Linked DNA regions of Homo sapiens: region 2 is linked to region 1. The links are contacts of gene promoters, found by promoter capture Hi-C in human tissues and cell types (Jung and others, 2019). All regions are on one chromosome and are shown on one strand. The core of a region is centred on a gene start or on the middle of the fragment in contact, and the rest is flanking DNA. Distances in the headings are between cores, read along the strand shown. Region 1 holds the start of INSM1 (INSM transcriptional repressor 1). Region 2 overlaps SLC24A3 (solute carrier family 24 member 3).

Region 1 (2,777 bases), core at 17-2,516:
GATTGGCCGCGACCGGAGCTCAATAGCAGGAGGTTAATTTCCTTCACAAAGGTGAAGGGGGCACGGCTCCGTGGGGGCTGCGCCCAGACAGGCAGCCCCTTTATTTCGCAGCGCCTTGATTGGAGCCCTTGATTTAGCATCTGATGTCAACCGGCAAACAAAATGCCCGCTCGGAATGAAAATGCATGAGGCCGCGCGGGGAGGAGAAAGCCAACTTCACTGGGGCGCACGAGGCCGACCGCGCGTTTCGGGCTTCGGCCAACTCGACCCGGATTAACCGAGCCTTGGACCACGCGGAAGCTCCGGGCGGCCTGGGTCGGGCCCCGCCAAAGATGCCATTCCCAAGCCTCCAAGAACCCAAAAGTTCAGAAATTCACGTTCCTCTGGGAACCCAGCCCAGCCCGCCCGCGCTCCAATCCCGCGCTTTCGGGAGACTGAGAAGGCCGTGCCAATTCCTTCTCAAACTCGAAAGAAACCTTCTCTAGCCCCGTGGGCGCGCGGAGGCTGCGAGCACAAACATCGCCCTCGGCCACTGCCAGAAGGCCGGGCCCCCTGTCCACACTTGGAACCCCGGGGAACCCTTTTGCTTGGCCTCTTGGGTCCAGCGGCCCATCCGTCCAAGGTCCGGGCGGAGGCCGTCCGGACCCTGCTGCTCTCTCGGATTCTTGTTTATTTCCCAAACACCACGCGGAGCCACTGCGCCTCCGCAACGATCTCCCCCGCACCGCCCCGGCGCGCCCCCGCCCCCACCCAATCAGCGCGCACAACTTCCCCCTCGGCTCCGGCTCGCGGATTGAACCCTCCTGACATATTTGGGGCCATTCTTCTCCTTTGTTGCTATTTTGCTAGCGACCCGCGGGTAATCCCCGCGCGGGAGGGGGGCGTGCATTGTCGCGCTGATGGACGGGCCCATTTGGCGGCTCCGCGCCCCCCGGAGGAGAGACACAAAGCCCAGGCACGTGCGCCTCCCCATAGAGAAGCAGCAGACCGTGAAGGGAGGCGGGGCCGGGCGTGTGCCTGGACCGGGCGGGGCGGCGGCGCCGGGCGGGGCGACCAGGGGCGCGCGCGGGGGCCCCGCGCCCTCAGGTACATCTGCCGCACCTACCGGGCGACCCCCGAGTCCCGGCCCCCTTTTGGCCGCCCCATCGCCCTCCCACCCTGCCAGGCTGAGGAGCTGCGGACGCGCTGATTGGCTCCAGGGGAAGCGGGAGGCGAGAACAATGGCCCCCTCCCCCCGTTAAAAGGGAGCGGCTGCCGGGCCCGGGGACAGGGACGCGCGTGCAGGGCGCAGAGCTGGGCCGAGCCGTCGCCGGCGCCACGCGAGTCCCGCAGCCGCCGCGCCCGGGCAATGGGCCGGGGGCACTGAGGGCCGCCGGGGCCGAGCGCGGAGGGGGGACCGAGCCAGTGCCGTGCCCTCGGGCCGCGCCAACATGCCCCGCGGCTTCCTGGTGAAGCGCAGCAAGAAGTCCACGCCCGTTTCCTACCGGGTCCGCGGCGGCGAGGACGGCGACCGCGCACTGCTGCTCTCGCCCAGCTGCGGGGGCGCCCGCGCCGAGCCCCCGGCGCCGAGCCCGGTCCCCGGGCCGCTGCCGCCGCCGCCGCCCGCGGAGCGCGCCCATGCAGCGCTCGCCGCCGCGCTTGCCTGCGCGCCTGGGCCGCAGCCACCCCCGCAGGGCCCGCGGGCCGCGCACTTCGGCAACCCCGAGGCTGCGCACCCCGCGCCGCTCTACAGTCCCACGCGGCCCGTGAGCCGCGAGCACGAGAAGCACAAGTACTTCGAACGCAGCTTCAACCTGGGCTCGCCGGTCTCGGCCGAGTCCTTCCCCACGCCCGCCGCGCTGCTCGGAGGGGGCGGCGGCGGCGGCGCGAGCGGAGCTGGCGGAGGCGGCACCTGCGGCGGCGACCCGCTGCTCTTCGCGCCCGCCGAGCTCAAGATGGGCACGGCGTTCTCGGCTGGCGCCGAGGCGGCCCGCGGCCCGGGCCCCGGCCCCCCACTGCCCCCTGCCGCCGCCCTGCGGCCCCCGGGAAAGCGGCCCCCGCCCCCTACCGCCGCGGAGCCGCCCGCCAAGGCAGTCAAGGCCCCGGGCGCCAAGAAGCCCAAGGCCATCCGCAAGCTGCACTTCGAGGACGAGGTGACCACGTCGCCCGTGCTGGGGCTCAAGATCAAGGAGGGCCCGGTGGAGGCGCCGCGGGGCCGCGCGGGGGGCGCGGCGCGGCCGCTGGGCGAGTTCATCTGCCAGCTGTGCAAGGAGGAGTACGCCGACCCGTTCGCGCTGGCGCAGCACAAATGCTCGCGCATCGTGCGTGTGGAGTACCGCTGTCCCGAGTGCGCCAAGGTCTTCAGCTGCCCGGCCAACCTGGCCTCGCACCGCCGCTGGCACAAACCGCGGCCCGCGCCCGCCGCCGCCCGCGCGCCGGAGCCAGAAGCAGCAGCCAGGGCTGAGGCGCGGGAGGCACCCGGCGGCGGCAGCGACCGGGACACGCCGAGCCCCGGCGGCGTGTCCGAGTCGGGCTCCGAGGACGGGCTCTACGAGTGCCATCACTGCGCCAAGAAGTTCCGCCGCCAGGCCTACCTACGCAAGCACCTGCTGGCGCACCACCAGGCGCTGCAGGCCAAGGGCGCGCCGCTAGCGCCCCCGGCCGAGGACCTACTGGCCTTGTACCCCGGGCCCGACGAGAAGGCGCCCCAGGAGGCGGCCGGCGACGGCGAGGGGGCCGGCGTGCTGGGCCTGAGTGCGTCCGCCGAGTGCCACCTGTGCCCAGTGTGCGGAGAGTCG
Region 2 (2,716 bases), core at 177-2,676, 670 kb before region 1:
GTGCTACATGATTTTCTGTGCAGCCCCCTAACCAGCGGGCTAACTGACCTGACTCATCTGAGGTTCAACTTCCTTCTGTTTGCTTCCTTTTCCTCCAGTGGAGGTTCTAATAAGTCCCAATCAATGCCCAGGAGTAGGGAGAAAACTAGGAGAAGCCGGAGACCTGGTCCCAGCCACCTGAGCAGTCTGCTCCCCTGAACTCCAGACCCAGCCACAAACATGATCATGAAAATGATGAACCAGAGGCCAAGACTGGCTGAGCCAAACCAGGTTCCTACAGGGACTGAGCTGAGGGTTAAAAAGGAAAAACAAGGTTTGGCCAGGACGCTGGTAGCTCCATTTGATCCAGAGCGACAAAATAGAAACAGCGTGTGTTTCTGCAGCTCACTTTCCTCCCTGGAGACCGGAAGTCAGAAAGCCCTGTGGCCACCCCAGGTTAAATTCTGTTCAGTTCTGCTCAGTACTGAACAGAAATGAGCTGCATTCTCTGTCTGAAAGGAGGCAAGGCAAGCATCTCTATGGATTTCACTCACATCCCCCCAATCTTTGAACAGGGAAGGAGCGATTGTGGCCTTTGGAGTGAAGTCAGGGTTCCGGGTGTAGGTGTCTCTCAAGGGCTGGCCCAGGAGGAACTGTGAGAAGAATGTGCTCCTTACAACATGTGCTTTGCATTTCCTGTAATTTTATGGCAAGTGAGGGAGATCCAGTGGCATCCTAAAATGACCTGACAGTTTCAACTCTTGTGAGTTATCTTCTCCTTGGGCCCACATGCAGGGAATGTGTCTCTTTTTCCACTTACCTCTTTTTTTGCCACCAGCTCCCTCATCATCTGCCTCATCAACTGCTTTTGTTTTTTTAAGCATGCTTGCATTTGCTTTTTCTATATTTGCATAAATTTAAGCGGTACAAGTAAATTTGTTACATGGATATATTGTGTGATGGAAGTGACGAAGTCCTGACTTTAGTGTATCCATGACTGAAATAATGTTCATCGTACCCATTAAGTAATTTCTCGTCACCCACCCCACTTCATTCCGTGCTGAATTTAAACTGAGGTGGCCTCTGGCCTTCCTGTTTTTCAGTCTCCAGGGAGGAAATTGAGATGTAGAAACACAACATTTCTGCCCCCAATCCTTCCAAGACTCCATTGCCTATCATTCCACACCCCATGTCCAAGTGTACACATTACGTAGCACCCACTTATGAGTGAGAACATGTGGAGTTTGACTTTCTGTGTCTGAGCTGTTTCACTTAAGATGATGGTCCCCAGAAGCTATTATAGTGAAGAAGATGTTGACAAGGACAGCAAATTGCTACCAAGCTTCAAGGAATAGAGAAAAGGAAATGCTAGTTATGGCTTTCCCCTTTTTTTCCTTTTCTTTTTTTTTTTTTTTTTTGTGAGACAGGGTCTCACTGTGTTGCCGAGGCTGGAGTACAATGGCACTATCACAGCTCATCGCAGCCTGAACCTCCTGGGCTCAAGCCATCCTCCTGCCTCAGCCTCTCAAGGAGCTGGGACCACAGACATACACCACCATGCCCAGCTAATTTTTAAAATTTTTTGTGGAGACAAGGTCTCACTATGTTGCTCACGCTGGTCTAGAACTTTTGAACTTAAGCAATCCTCTCAACTTGGCCTCCCAGAGTGATAGGATTACAGGCCTGAGCCACCGTGCCCAACCTTAGAGTTATGCCTTTTCTAACAAGTATGGATACTGTCAAATCCAGCCCCTTTGCAGTTCTTCTAAATTCCCATTGTGCATCCTCCCTGACATGGACGCTCAAATTCCAAGCAAAGCATCCATCCATTCTGGATGCCTCAGGGCCACCCGTAGTTCAAATATTCTGTCCCAATATTGCCTTTTTCCCAGAAATTCTATTTTCTCTTCTCAAACCACCCGCCTCACCGGAAGAGAACAAGTGAAAAGGCCAATGTTTTGTTGGAAAGTTTGGGTCCTATTACAGCACCGTCCCCTGACCTGCAGCCCCGGTCGGCATCCACATAGTGTTTGTCACCCTCTGTATTGATACAGAGAGCAGACATTGCACCCCACAGAGATAGCCCAGACCATAGCCTGTTGTGAGTCTCCATCAGAAGAATCATGGGCAGGTGGGGCTTGAGGTGACCCTCAGCTGACCACCTCTTCCTGCTCCTTCTAGGTCACAATCATTGGTTACACCCTGGGGATTCCTGACGTCATCATGGGGATCACCTTCCTGGCTGCTGGGACCAGCGTGCCTGACTGCATGGCCAGCCTCATTGTGGCCAGACAAGGTGGGACTTCCAGTGGCAATGGGGAAGGAGGGAGGGAGGGAGGAGGAGAGGGAGGGAAGAAGGGAGGGAGGGAGGGAGGGAAGGAAGGCAGGAGGGAGAAGAGAAAGGGAGGGAGAAGAGAAGGAAAGAGGGAGGGAGGGAGTGAAGGAAAGAAGGAAGGAAGGGAGGAAGTCAGGCGGGCAGGCGGGCCTCTCTACCTGGGGGACCCACCTGGTAATTAACAGGGTTTGGAAGGAGGGAGGGTGATGCCGTGTTGGTTGAAAGGTTTCCTGGGCTCAGAAGAACAGAGAAATAATCCAGAAGGTCCTACCCTTGAGGAAAGCAAAGACATTTCCTAGGTAGCACCCATAGCCCCTTCTGGAGGCTGTATCACCATCCTCCTATTATTCAAAGTAGTAGGAAATGTACTGACAGCTAACCTTTACTGAGTAAAACATGATA

The links. Contacts are between HindIII fragments. The study calls those that stand out against the background at their distance.
Region 2: a contact is called between a fragment that was not itself captured here and the fragment with the promoter of INSM1 in region 1, in 1 of the 25 tissues and cell types used here (IMR-90 fibroblasts).

Annotation. Positions count from the first base shown.
Region 1 is chr20:20,366,838-20,369,614 of GRCh38, forward strand. It overlaps INSM1 (INSM transcriptional repressor 1), which reads left to right and starts at 1,267. Exons shown (of 1, transcript NM_002196.3): 1 at 1,267-2,777. The coding sequence starts at 1,431. RefSeq lists an enhancer at 360-1,130. The HindIII fragment of the contact is 4,823 bases long and covers 1-2,777 here.
Region 2 is chr20:19,694,637-19,697,352 of GRCh38, forward strand. SLC24A3 (solute carrier family 24 member 3) reads left to right here. Exons shown (of 17, transcript NM_020689.4): 14 at 2,161-2,275. Among named protein-coding and RNA genes, the nearest start is that of RIN2, 62 kb to the right of the region's middle. The HindIII fragment of the contact is 5,354 bases long and covers 1-2,716 here.